Regions from separate parts of the Homo sapiens genome. Here all the other regions are linked to region 1. The links are contacts of gene promoters, found by promoter capture Hi-C in blood cells and fetal thymus (Javierre and others, 2016). All regions are on one chromosome and are shown on one strand. The core of a region is centred on a gene start or on the middle of the fragment in contact, and the rest is flanking DNA. Distances in the headings are between cores, read along the strand shown.

Evidence for each region. The method cuts DNA at HindIII sites, captures the fragments that hold promoters and counts their contacts. A CHiCAGO score of 5 or more calls a contact.
Region 2: a contact is called between a fragment that was not itself captured here and the fragment with the promoter of LAS1L in region 1, in 1 of 17 cell types (activated CD4 T cells). The highest score is 7.1, in activated CD4 T cells.
Region 3: a contact is called between the fragment with the promoter of ZC3H12B here and the fragment with the promoter of LAS1L in region 1, in 2 of 17 cell types (total CD4 T cells and non-activated CD4 T cells). The highest score is 6.4, in total CD4 T cells.
Region 4: a contact is called between a fragment that was not itself captured here and the fragment with the promoter of LAS1L in region 1, in 6 of 17 cell types (total CD4 T cells, M1 macrophages, total CD8 T cells and 3 more). The highest score is 6.1, in total CD4 T cells.
Region 5: a contact is called between a fragment that was not itself captured here and the fragment with the promoter of LAS1L in region 1, in 2 of 17 cell types (naive CD8 T cells and total CD4 T cells). The highest score is 6.5, in naive CD8 T cells.

Annotation. Positions count from the first base shown.
Region 1 is chrX:65,533,512-65,536,211 of GRCh38, forward strand. LAS1L (LAS1 like ribosome biogenesis factor) reads right to left here and starts at 1,276. Exons shown (of 14, transcript NM_031206.7): 1 at 969-1,276; 2 at 99-224. The coding sequence starts at 1,204. RefSeq lists an enhancer at 1,371-1,550. The HindIII fragment of the contact is 19,270 bases long and covers 1-2,700 here.
Region 2 is chrX:66,024,484-66,027,183 of GRCh38, forward strand. It overlaps VSIG4 (V-set and immunoglobulin domain containing 4), which reads right to left. Exons shown (of 8, transcript NM_007268.3): 6 at 542-646. Among named protein-coding and RNA genes, the nearest start is that of MIR223, 7.0 kb to the left of the region's middle. The HindIII fragment of the contact is 3,017 bases long and covers 1-2,700 here.
Region 3 is chrX:65,033,389-65,036,088 of GRCh38, forward strand. It overlaps ZC3H12B (zinc finger CCCH-type containing 12B), which reads left to right and starts at 1,438. Exons shown (of 10, transcript NM_001010888.4): 1 at 1,438-1,881. It also overlaps a transcript of ZC4H2 not described here. RefSeq lists silencers at 1,466-1,615, 1,676-1,905 and an enhancer at 2,006-2,065. The HindIII fragment of the contact is 4,649 bases long and covers 1-1,974 here.
Region 4 is chrX:65,985,081-65,987,780 of GRCh38, forward strand. No RefSeq gene overlaps it. Among named protein-coding and RNA genes, the nearest start is that of MIR223HG, 29 kb to the right of the region's middle. The HindIII fragment of the contact is 1,539 bases long and covers 630-2,168 here.
Region 5 is chrX:66,002,702-66,005,401 of GRCh38, forward strand. No RefSeq gene overlaps it. Among named protein-coding and RNA genes, the nearest start is that of MIR223HG, 11 kb to the right of the region's middle. The HindIII fragment of the contact is 163 bases long and covers 1,265-1,427 here.

The DNA of each region.
Region 1 (2,700 bases), core at 26-2,525:
CTTCAGGTAACACCTGAAGCCAAGTTTTGCTTATCACATGCCTCCCCTGCCTCCAGTCCCCAAAGCCAACCTCCACCCCTACCCCATGCAGGTCTTACCTGACCAATGCCATGCCATAGAGCAGTCTAAGTTCATCAGTGCCCAAGCCACCAGTTACATCCAAGAGCTTACAGCGTATCAGGTCAGCAGTAGAAGCCACTGCCAGAGGGAGTTCGTTGCCTGACCTAAAGGGTCACAGTCCAGCACCATCATAAAGAGCCCTTACACTGGTCCACCCTCCACCTCAGAACCTAGGTTGTTGCAGGCTACACCCATCATATTCTGGTTCAAGAGAGCATGAACAGACACAAAACAAGAAGGTGGGAGGAGACACGGTAATGTCTGTGGGATCCAACAGTATACAGGGCATGAGGAGCTGACTAGGCCGTATACAGGACACCTAACTGGTAGACTGTCCATCAACAGTTGTGTGGACACACCCCTTTCTTTCACCCCCAAATCAACTCATTGAGCTAGAGGAGCCCCTTATCCCTTGTAAGTCGGCTCCCAACTCAATCTTACCAACTGGACTGAGGCGCCCCACTCAAACACTGTCTTGCAGGCAAGACTTCCTCCCCATTGGAATCGGAAATCTACCCTAGGGTACTAATCTACTCCTTAAGCCCTGGCTCAGGCCTCACTAGTCCCTCCGGCATCCTCTCCAAGTTGGGAGAAAGTCACTTTTTGGAGGTAATGGGTAAACCTCACAGATATAACAAGAGAATTGTTGAGGCACAACCCCTTACTTTCCATTCCGCTAACGGGATTAGCGCAAGAGATGGCTGCCGCGTTCCCCCAGGCATTTGGGAGAGGGACAACTTTAGGCGACTTAGGGGAAGACTGGAGAACAGGGCCTTATAGAAACTCGACAAAGGAAGAGGTGCAGCGCCACCAGCACGCAGGCAAAAGGGCCGAACCCGCCACCTTACCTGCTCCTCCACACCGTGATGCGGTTAAGCGCGTACCGCTGCAACTTATGGTCGTCACAGAACAGATAAACCGTCACCTGGTCCCACTCGGCCCTGCTGAGCCAGGCGACCACGATGCCGTGGGCCGAGAGTGGCAACGACCCTTTCCCTTTAACGCACTTTCCGTACCACGCACTCCACACGAGATCCATCCCCTGGGAACCTAGACCTGGCCCGGCCCCGGATTCCCACGACATACTGAGCTCAACAACAGGCTCTGTGCCGCGCCGCTCCGCACAGCCTTCAGCTCAGCGTGCTACCCTCACTCCGAACCGCCACCGCACCAGCAGCCAATAGGAGAGCGTGACCCCATACGCAAGCCCGCCTTCCAGCGTCAGCATGGCCAATCGGAACGTCAGAATTGGGCGCCGACCTAATGACATGCGGGGTTAAAAACTCACCGGCCGGAAGTGTTCTTTTCACAAAGCAAACCCTCCAGGGGCAAGAGTTCAGCCTCTAGGTTCCGCCAATTTCCTGGTTGCTAACCGGCTTCTGTACCAGACCGGAAGCGGTATGTCTTCACTGCAAGAGGAATTTTATTTTGCTCCCCTCGGCGGGTGGCAGCTTGATTGTAGTCATCCAGTGAACTGAAAATGCGATTTTAAGTATATTTTTATTGCCGTGAATCAGGACCTAACCTAGTAAAACACTGGACACTGAAGCAGGGCTACAGAGGAAATATCTCATATCGAAACAGTTACAGTTGGGTTGAAAAAATCTGCTTTTGTGGCAGGTAACCAGGGGCCCTGCCTTTTAAATTAGTACCAGCCTGGCCAGGCGTGGTGGCTCACGCCTGTAATCCCAGCACATTGGGAGGCCCAGGCGGGCGGATCACTTGAGGTCAGGAGTTCCAGACCAGCCTGGCCAAAATGGTGAAACCCGGTCTCTAGTAAAAATACAAAAATTAGCTAAGCATGGTTGCACATGCCTGTAATCCCAGTTACTCAGGAGGCTGAGGCACAAGAATCGCTTGAATCCGGGAGGCGGAGGCTGCAACAAGCCAAGATCGCACCAGTGCACTCCACCCTGGGTGACAGATCGAGACTCTGTCTCAAAAGTAAATTAAATAAATACATACATAAATAAATAAATAAATACCAGCCTAGAGACCTGAGTTTTACTCTAAATTTTGCCACTAACTATGTGGACTTAGACTAGTCTCAGTTTTCCCATCTGTACAGTGAGAGTTGTAGACTGGTCTCTAGGTTCTCTGTCATAGCAGAAAATTGTAGAATTTTACTCTGCCAACATTCCACTGCTATGTTGGTTTCAACATCCACCAAGGTATACTTAGTTTTTCTGCAAAATTCCTTGGTATTTTGGAGTTCTGGGAGAAAAGCGGTATTATGAAGTTCCTCCGATTTTACGAGTTGACTGAAATATGTTTAGGACTATGTCCCAATCCTTCTTGCAGAAGTTATTTTCCAATGTAACACTTGAGAGAGAGAGAGAGAGAACTGTTGCTAACGATCTTAACAGCATTGCTGTGAGTGGCACTTTTACGCTTCACAGCAACAAATCCCAATTCATCCTCTATATGTGCTTCTTTCTCCAGCCAACTTTTCCTAAGATATAGTCTGCCTATAGTTATTTTATTTTTCTTTTTTTCTTTTTCTTTTTTTTTTTGACATGGCGTCTGGCCCAGTCGCCCAGGCTGGAGTGCAGTGGCACAATTCTCGGCTCACTGCAACCT
Region 2 (2,700 bases), core at 160-2,659, 490 kb after region 1:
CTGATGTAGTTCTCTCTTCCTGAAATACTGTCTCCTTACAACTTGTTTTCATCCTCCAAAATGTGGTCTAAGATATTCTTCCTTCTGAAATCCCTTGCTAATTACCCAAGCCTTAAATTACTCTCTTCTCCTCTGGATCCCTTTAGCATTAATTGTCTTCTCTAGTTTTTGAGCTCATAGCCTCTATTGCTATGTATTGTCATTGATAAATTCCATGTTTCTACCTTGAATCTCCTAAATAAATTGTGAGCAACTTGAGGCCAGGGATTGTGACTTCTCCTTCTCTTGCATCATTACAAGATGACTCGTTAGAAAGATGGCTGTACTTCACTGAGTACCAAAGCCTAGTGCATTTAGTTCTGTAAGTCTTATGCCATTGTTTGCTCGAACATCTGCCTCCCTGCACCCCAACCTTAACTCCCAAACTAGGCTGGGAGCTTCTTGAAGTGCCTAACACAATGCCTGATACAGAATTTAGGCTCAAGTATACTGACAGAAAGAACAAATGAGCCAAAGCCACCTTCTCATATTCATCACTAACCTTGTTGGGATGTCTTCCGACAGAGCATGATATAGGCCATGGTAAAAACCACCATACAGCACAAGGAGATGATGAGGATGATGGCAAAGACAGGCAGGCTCTTTCCTAGAGGGTAAAACAAGATCAAGTGGTATTTGATTGAAAATAAGGCCAGAAACAAAAACTCTAAGAAACAGCCTAGACTAAGCCAGGCCTTTTTCTTTTTCATTTTCCATATTCTCCTAACCTTCTTAGCTAGCCAGAGAGAAAAAACTCCAGTCCCATGAGAAAGACTTGAGAAAGAGATGCCATGTGTAAACAGGTTCTTCCAGACTCACTGGTGGGCTGATTGGCCTGGGCATTTGAGCTAGTTGTCTATGCTTTCTATAGGGCCAAGACAGAAGGTTTTCACCTTCCCTTAGAAAAAAGAAAATAATATCCTGACTTTCCAGCTTCACCAAAAATGCTACATACCTTATTAAGATTCTGGTCAGTTACTTCTAGCCACAAAGATTCTTCCCATCACACGCTCTGGTCAAGTCCCCAGCTTCCTTCTTTCTCAAAACATATTTCCACTGAGCCACTTGAGACACATATTCCCATTATGCCTAAAAGCTGAAAGAATCAACTGGACTTGGCTTCCAGTCCTAGATCTGTTATTTACTTTCTGTATGACTATGGTAGGCAGAATAATGGTCCTCTAAAGATATTCACATCCAAATTCCTGGAACCTGTCAGTATGTTAGTTTACATAGTAAAAAGGAACAGAGATTTGAGAATGCTACATTGTTAGTTTTGAAAATGGAGGAAGGGGGCCATGAGCCAAAGAACGTGGGTAGCTTCTAGAAGCCAGAAAAGAAAGACAAGGAAATTAATTCTTCTCCAAACCCTCCAAAGGGAACATAGCCTTGCTGACTGACATTTTGATTTTAGCTCAGTGATAATTGTGTCAGACTTATTTCCAGAAGTGGAAGATAATATATTTATGCTGTTTTAAGATACTAGGTTTGGGGTAAGTTTTTACAGCAGCCATGGAAAAATGAATACAGTGACCTTAGACAAAACTTTGACTGTCACTAGGCCTTAGTTACCCCATAAGTTCAATGAAAAGATTGGATGATGTCTAAAGCACTTTTAGCTATAATATTCTGAATCTAAGATGCTAGGTCAGGGGGGATAGAGAGGCGTGAGGAAAGGAACCTCAGTGTACTTAGGATTTGTTGCTGCAACTGGCTTGTTTTCATGAGACTCTAAGATATCGTGTCCTAGGAATCCAGTATTTGTGGTCCTCAGAGTGTCTTGTTGGGACTGAGAGAGCTCAAGTTATAAGCTGGTACAAATCGAAGAAATATTCTCTTTTGAAGAGAGTCAAGTACTAAAAAACTTGGTAGAGAAAATAGGGCGCAGACCCAACATCTAATAACTTTGCCCAAGGTTATTTTCTCATTTTTCCAAACCAACTCCCTATGAGGCAATTTCTAACTTCTCTTCTCCCAGTAGATGTTCTTCTCGGAGAGGAACGGAGCTATGGAAATCTTGAAGCCAAAGATGGCAATGCAAATGTGGAACATAAAACAGGTTTGAGTGCTGCCAAGGGATAGCCAAAAAACTCTGCAATCAGGAATGGAGAGTTACAAAGAGCATTTGGAAGTCCACTCTCTCAATTATACACAGGCAGAGAATGAGTACCAGGAGTGATAGTTATCAAACTATTTAATTCCAACCAGTCACAACAGATGCCTACTGTAGACTTGGAGTCTTAGAGATTCCTTGGTATACCTTTTGTTGCATGACCATGGGGGTGGTCTAGAGAGTTCTGAGGAATGGGACAAGGCAGCCCCAGGTAATAATGGAGGGCTCAGGGGTTAAGGGGAGCAGCTAATTATCAATTGGTGTGAGAGTGTTCTATTATTTCAACAGTCAATGTAGTCATGTGAAGGCATACCAACTGACTATCAGATGCAGGTGAAACACAAAAGATTTATTTGGGATTTGAATCTCTGAGACCCTGACTTGGGAATTTTCAAGGCTTTGGAGGAATCAGAAATCAGCTTCAAGCGGCTTGAAGAGCCCTGGTTAAGAGCTCAAGCAATGACACTCAGCCATTATCCTTACCTGGTTGAGGTCATGATGTCATAATGTCCCTATCCATATTCTTGCTCAGAATGTTTGGAAAGCAT
Region 3 (2,700 bases), core at 188-2,687, 500 kb before region 1:
ACATGTTAATTAACTGGAGGGTTTATGCAGATTTCTTACCCAGGTGAACCTTTGGGAAATATGTCTAAGCACTTTATAGATCTAGATGTGTCTCAGAAAAGGTAAAAACTGGTCTGTGGCTGGGTGCCTAAGGGGGTGTGGAAGGAGCTAGGGCTAGAAAAATAGAGGCAAGATCTTAGAGGACTTTGAATGTTAAGCTAGGGAATCTGTATTTTCTCCTTTATTATAGATAATGAATCTATTGAAAAATAACTCCAATTTTTACTAAGCGCTTACTCTGAGCCACAGTAAGTTATGTATGTTAAGTGCTTTACATTCACTTTTCCATTTAATCCTCATAACTACTCTATAGGTATTATAATTATCCCCATTTTACTGATAAGGAAACAGATTTAGACAGGTTAAGAATCTTAGCTCAGGCCGGGCACGGTGGCTTACGCCTGTAATCCCAGCTCTTCGGGAGGCGGAGGCGGGCGGATCACTTGAGGTCAGGAGTTCAAGACCAGCCTGGCCAACATGGTGAAACCCCGTCTCTACTAAAAATACAAAAATTAGCCAGGCATGGTGGCTTGCACCTGTAGTCCCAGCTACTTGGGAGGCTGAAGCAGGAGAATTTCTTGAACCCAGAAGTAAGAGATTGCAGTTAGCTGAGATGGCGCCACTGCACTCCAGCCTGGGCGACAGAGTAAGACTTTGTCAAAAAAAAAAAAAAAAAAAAATTCCTAGTTCAAGGAAACAGAGCTACTTGGTGGTGGAGCAGAAATTCAAACTTGGCTGTAATTTCAAAGCCCATTCTCTAAGCCAGAAGGAAGTGAGATTAGATTTTCATTTGATCACTGGTAGAAGTATGAGAACAAATTGCAGAAAGACAAGTCTAAAGGCAAAGAAACCAGAGAGTATGCTGTTGCAGTAGTCAAGAATTGTTAGGCCCTATTAAGGGAGGTGACCCTTAACCACCTGAGTTATGCAGACGAGTGACATAGTCAGAGAAGTTATTTAGAAAATTACCCTGGCAGCCCTTGTGAAGGATGAATTGGAGGAGCCAAGACAAATACGTAGGCAAATAAAATAAAAACAAATAAAAGACAAATAAAAGGCAGTGAGACAAGTAGTGAGGTTGTTGGGACTGTCACTCTTAACCGCAGAGGTGCCTGTCGAGGGGCTGGGAGACGGTCGTATCCCAAGTCCTCGGGCCTATCGAATTGCAGAGCATCCTGGACCTCTCCTCACCCACGCTTACCTTCACGTCGCTCCTTCTAGGCCTTAGGAAGTGGGGTTTTGAGCACTTTCTAGGTCGTAGGCCTGCTGGTCTGAGCTCCGACAGCGGCGCCAGCGGTGGCAGCAGTCGCCGACAGGGGTGGGGCGCATGCGCACAGTTGCTAGGCAACGGCGGCCGGGCGCCGCGGCGATAACCGCGCCGGGGCTGTGTGTGTAGGCAGAGGCGCCAGAGGAGGAGGAGCAGGAGGATGCAGCTGCGACCGCGGCCCCAAGAGGGAGCCGCCGCTGCTCTGTGGCCAGGGGGGCCCAGGGACTGGAATCAGGCCTGGGGGTCGCATCGCTGAGGGGACTGGTAACGGCGGTCCCTCCAGAGGCTCAGGCCTAGTACCCCAGGAGGGTCCGGGCCGCTGGGCGAGCGCCTTCCCCCCATCGCCTCCCCTCGTCCCTCCACGTCGATGGTGGTGAAGTTGGCGGCGCCACGGAGCGCAAGGCACCAAGCTGTCTCCCTTGCACCCAGCTCCTCTCTGGCCCCGGCTGTTGGACACCTGCGCCGCCGCCTTCTCTCGCCCGCCGAGCCCACCCCCTGCGGCGGGCGGGGGAGGGGCTCCCCCCTGCAGGGGCTGCGTCGAGCAGGGCGACGACGGGGACCATAGGAGAGTAGGGGTGAGTAGTGGCACCGCACTCGCTCGGTTCTAGTGCGCCTTTCCGGCCTCCGTGGCCCCAGGAGGCGAGCGAATCGCTGCTTTCTCCTGCAGAAGCTTCTGACGCCTCTCCCACATCTGCTCGCGGCTCTCTATTCCCTTCGAGGTAGTTTTCCTTCTCATAGCCACCACTTTTTGGTCTCAACCCTGGCGTCCAGGAATGCGGGGTGGGTGCTTAAGGCCTGGCTTTGCTTCTTAGATGCCATAGATGCTGATAATTCTACGTACAGTCACGCAGCCTGATTCCTGATTCGTGGACAGACTCTCCCAGTGCCGTGCTCGCCCCTTTCCCCTCGCTCTGGCTCTGGCTCTCGCTCTCTCAGGAGGCTCAGCCTGACCGCGGGCTTCTCAGGAGCCCATTCCCCGGGCTGCTGTCGCTCCATGCCTCAAGGTTTGAACACATAGCTGGAGTGGCCCCTTACTTTTCAGTGTTGTTGCTACTCGTGTGCTAAGACCTCCCGAAAGCCTTGTGCCTGGCTTCTGACTCCTGACATGTACGTTAGGAAGATAGTACTTATATTAAATAATAAAAATAATAAAACAAACACACACTCCATTTGACTTCTAAAGTGCTATCAAACTTGAGAAGTAGGCAGAATGGCTGATTCATAATAGGGGAAACTGGTTTTACAAACTACTTTTCATCCAGAATGGCATACTTCTTTTTTATTATAAATACGATGATGAAACCTAAAATATCCCCAATAAAAGCGAGGATGGGTTGTGATATATCTGTTCTTCCTGAGGTAGCCTGCAGTTGAAGATAGTCGGTTCCAGAAAA
Region 4 (2,700 bases), core at 149-2,648, 450 kb after region 1:
CTGTTCCAGATGACATGGGGGCATAATTTGGTAAGACAAAATTCTTGCTCCCAAGCAACTTCACATTTAGTAGGGAAAATAGACATGTATTGTAATTGCCCCTCTTATCTCCTCTGGAATCCTTGGCCCAATTCACAAATCCTTGGCCCACTCTCCAATTAAAAACTCCCTTATAATGCCGCATTTTCTACTGGATAGAGTCAATACTTATTGACATGCTAAGTATTTGATAGAGCAGTTATCTGAAGATACACTCTCTGTCTTCTTATCTATCTCTTTTTTTTTTGGCATTCCAGTATGGCTCCAATCTAGCTTCCTCAATCCTTTGATGTGCCTTTGTTATCACGTAACATGCGCAAAACTAATGTGGTGTTATATATCTGTCATTCTCTAGTTTGACACTTAGATCCTGGAGAGCCAGAATTAAGCCTTAATCTTTTATGAGTCCTTCACATGGGAACTGATATAAAATATACAACCAATATATGTTAAGCAAAAGAATAAATAAGTAAATAAATTAAACAAATCTAACATAAGGTAGAATGTGATCAATGCCATAAGTGAAAGGCATAGATAAAGCACAGACGAGTCTCAAGCATCTGATAATTTGTGACTAGTAGAATTAGGAAAGCTTCTATGGGAATAATGTTGTGTGACAATGTCATTAAAGATAATTAAGGTTTCATCTCATGGAAGATTCCAATGGACGGAGCCAAGTCAAGTCAATAGAACTATGCAGAGGATATGTTCAGAGACTAGGGAACAGTCCAGCCTGGCTGCTCCACGGAGGTTGATGAAAGGGCAAAGAGGGACACTGGTAAAGTTTGTTGGTACCAGATTATAATAAACCTTTAGAACCAGGCTGAAAGTTTTGAATTTTCTTTAGGAGGCAATGAAGAGCACCAGGTGGCTTCTGAGCAGGTAAACACTGTAATCCAATGTGTGCTTGATGGAAAGGAGTAAAAACATGGTGCCCGGGAGGGTCTTAGAGTTTGTGTAGTGATGCAAGACAGCCTGACAGGCAAGAAGACAGACTCTAGACCCTGCTGTGAGGAGGAAGAAGTGTGGCATTCCAGCATGTTTATGAGAACTCAAACACATTGTAACTTAGTGATAGACGCTAACAATCTCAAGCAGCCTTATTCTAACAAATAATGACTCACTCTTACCATTTGTGAATACTAGGCAGCTGTGGCTCTTATATATGTCAGTCATCTGGGGTGCGACATACCAAACCTAACAGGGGATTCACAGTTCTGACTGAGCTCCATCAGGACTGGCTCCTGTGTGACCTGGCCCATCCAGTTGTGGGTTGTTCCCTTTGTTACTAGGGAAAATTTCCCTGCGTTAACATTGCCCTCTAGTGGTTTTTGTTTCCTACAACCGGAGGTACACTTACCCCAACCTTAAACTTTTCCCTTTCTCAGAGATTGCAGTTTTCTTTTCTGTCTCTTTGTTTTCTCTTTCATCTCTACCTTCTCTTATTTCTCCCTCCCTTATTCCATGCAGTGGAGTGAGTGAAGCAGACAGGCCTAGAGAGAATTAGCCCAGTGTTACAGATAAGGAAACTGAGGCTTAGAAATGTGAAGTTAATTTGCTCTACACATTCAGCTACAAAGCATCTTAACTACAAAGTGACTGGATTAGAATTCAAACCATATATCTGAACTTGGAATTCTGGTTTTTATCCAATTCACTTTCCTCCCTTCTTCCTTTCTGTTCTCCCTCATTCCATCTCTCCCTTTTCATTCACCCTCCCTTCCATAAATGCCAGTTGACAATTCTGTGGTAGGAATAGTGTTAAGACATAGAAATAAATAGATACTGTCTTTGAGGGAACTCCCAGTCTCTTATGACAGAGAGACAAAAATAATTATAACCCAATGTGATTATATTGTTGATAGAGTCATGTTGGATGTGCTGGATCATCAAGGATATAGGGTAATTTACCTGTTATAGAAGAGGGAGAAGGGAAGATTATTTCAGGACAAGGAACCAGTCAGCACTAAGGTATAGGTATGGGGAAATAATAAGACATTTTCAGATAAAGAGTAAGGGGATGAAGGAGTTGGGGGAGTGGGGCCTGGAGCCAGATTGTGGCAGCCTTTGTGTGCCAGGCAGAGTATTCTGGACTTTAGCCTCATTCTCTCTTTTTACACAATTTCTGAAGCTTATAAGTAAATACATTTTCTAGGCTATTACCATACCCCCACATACTAAGTTGTTTAGTTTATTTGTCAAGCAGGCCAAAAAATAACAAAATAAACTATTTTTAAGCCTGTCCAGGGGTATAATATGAGTCCAAGACCAAATGGGAATGAAACCCTGGTCTCCTGCCTTCTAGGCCTTCGGATGATAAAAATGAGGAGGGGGAGAAAGGTGGAGAAATTAACTGAAAAATAATGGGATAGATTCCAGACATCTGGACCAGCCTCAAACAAATCAACATGCAGACTATGTCCTGTTTGCTCTGCCTTCCTCTTTACTTACAGGCCTAGAGATTGGGTAGGAAGCAAATGTTTGTTTATCAAAGTATATTTATCCACTGACCTCCAGAATATTTTCAGGGATGGTTGCTGTTCCATGAAAAACATGCAGGTCACAATACATTGGCCTCAAATCACACAGGTATTCTCATAATACTTCCAAATAGTGCTCCTTCTTTCCCCACATCTTATTTGGGTGCATGTATTAATAATT
Region 5 (2,700 bases), core at 96-2,595, 470 kb after region 1:
TTGTGTGTGGGGGAAACTATCCCACACATTTGGCTGCAGAAATCTTCCATGTTGATTGTTGTGTTGATGTGAAAGCAGAGGAAAAAAATGGTTTGGGGTTTTTCCCAAACAACCCTCAATTCAGGATCATGAGTTTTATGAACTCTCTGAAAAGCAATCTTTAAATCAATTGAACTTAACTTCACTAGTAATTCTCTAAAGGGCTGAGGTTTATTTTCAGCTTCGCTTTTTGATATTTACAACAGATTTCCTCCCTCCAGCCCACGCAGCTTTGTCGCCTCTCTGATTTTCATTTCCTCTTCTTCCTTACCTAAGGTGACAGGAATGCAACCCTGGTTGCAATTGTGTTTTTCTCTATTCAAATTTTGTCTCATTATGTCCATAGGAAGAAAACAGAGGTTTAGAAGACATTACTGGCTGGGCGGGGTGGCTAACACCTGTAATCCTAGCACTTTGGGAGGCCGAGGTGGGCAGATCATGAGGTCAGGAGTTCGAGACCAGCGTGGCCAACATGGTGAAATCCCGTCTGTACTAAAAATACAGAAATTAGCCGGCATGGTGGCACACATCTGTAATCCCAGCTACTGGGGAGGCTGAGGCAGGAGAATTGCTTGAACCCAGGAGACAGAGGTTGCAGTTAGCTGAGATTGCACCATGGCACTCCAGCCTGGGCAACAGAGCAAGACTCCACCTCAAAAAAAAAAAAAAAAAAAGAAGACATTACTCATCAACCCGATTGCTGTGCTGGCCTATGTTCACCTCCAAACACATCTTGATTTCAAATGGTTCACTAAAAGCCTACTGTGTTCTAGGTATGGAGCCTAAGAAATGACTCACCCCTGCCATCTGAAGAGATTTTAACTCGGGCAGAATTGGAGTTGTGGACTTAACATGTGTGGAAAGTATCCATAAGTCAAGATGGAGTCAGATTATATAGCACAAATATTAATATTTATTTCAGCAGGCATTTTAGTCAGATTTAACCAACATTTACAGAAAAGCTACTTCATGTTAGAACTTAACCTAGGATCTGGGAATCCAAAAATTATTAAGTTAAAGCCAGTGCCTGGTAGAGCACACTTTGTAACTATGTAAACAGGTATTCTAAATACAATGTAATCAGGCTGTAATTTAGGTGCATACAACGCACAGAAGAATTTGTCTAGGACAATTAAAAGAGGTTTCCCAGAGGAGATGACAATTGAGCTGGGTCTGAAGAAGAAACACAAGGTCTCCTGACAGAATAGATGTGAAGGGAATAGGAAGCTTTCCAGGTCCACAGAGAGGCATGTGTAAAGGCTGGAGGTATACTAGAATATAGGGCATGCAGTAGTCAGAATATAGGATGGGAAGAGAACAGTGAAGACATAGGCTGTGTACAGATTGTGAAAGATCCTGATCACTTAGCTGACAAATTTTGAACTTTAAGCTTAAAACAATGAAGAGCCACTCATCTTTTCTGAGCAGTGCAATAACACCACTAGAGTTGTGTTATTAAAAGATCATCCTGGCAATAAATATCAAACTTTAAGGATAAAAACATTCCTGGATGAAAATGAACATCATTTTCATCTTTTTTTTTCTATATTCTTCTTCATCATTAGGAACAAAATCATTCTCTTCCTCAAATACAAGCACTCTGGGAGCTGACCTCATCACCCTTTATTAATTTAGCTAACAATTGCTAACACTAAGGCCCCTTACTATGTGCCAAACACTGGTGATACAGAAATCAATTTAAACAGAGATACTTTTTCTTGAGGGAACTACAGGCTACTCATGAGAAAAAGGCATGGACAAAAAATATCACACTTTAAGGTCATAAGTGTTATAATCAGAATATTAGTAAAAATATATAATGATGATCAACGATGATTGATATTTCTAACTTGGATTTTCTCCATGGAGATAAGAAACACAGTATTATGACCAAGTTTGTTTGAGGTGTAGGGTCTAGGGCATGAGGACTTAGACATTCAGGGAGATATGTTCAATATTAGATTGAATCTACTGATCTGGAGGTAGGGAAGATAGAAAGAGAGTAAGGAAGTGTGCAGAGACACAACAAAAAGACAAAAGTACAGAGTATTTGGAAACACATTTAATAAAGAACAGGAAAGAAAGAGACGTCGTTAAGAGAACCAAAGAGAATGGTTAGGAAGATAGGTGAATCAGAGGAGTATAGGTAAATTCAACAATTCTCACTGAGCACTATTGGGATCAGGTGTTCTGCTAGGTATCAGGGACACAAATGGAGAAGACAGTCTCTGCAATTGGCTATGATCCTCTGGCATGAATTTGATCTTTACATCTCATCTGAACCATACTTCTGTGGTTCTGGTGATCAAATTCAGTCTGGAGAGGGAGGGTATTCTCTAAACCATTTGATGACAGGTTTTAGGAAAGAAGAAATGGCTGACAGTCACCTGTTGCAGAGACATTGAAGGGAGTGAGGGCTAGTAGAGAGGCTTTTGGTTTTGTTGATTAAGAGTTCATGGTAATTTTGTGACAACAGTTACCAAGGTTAGTGCAGAAATGAGAATAAAGACAAAAAGCTAAATTATGGTAGATTAGGAGGTTAAACAGTGAGGTAATCTATGGAACCTACTTTTTAGAGTGATCTGAAGAATGATGTGGTGGTCACTAGAAAGATTTTTTTTTTAAATTTGGTTAAGATGTGATTATATGTACAGGCTCAGA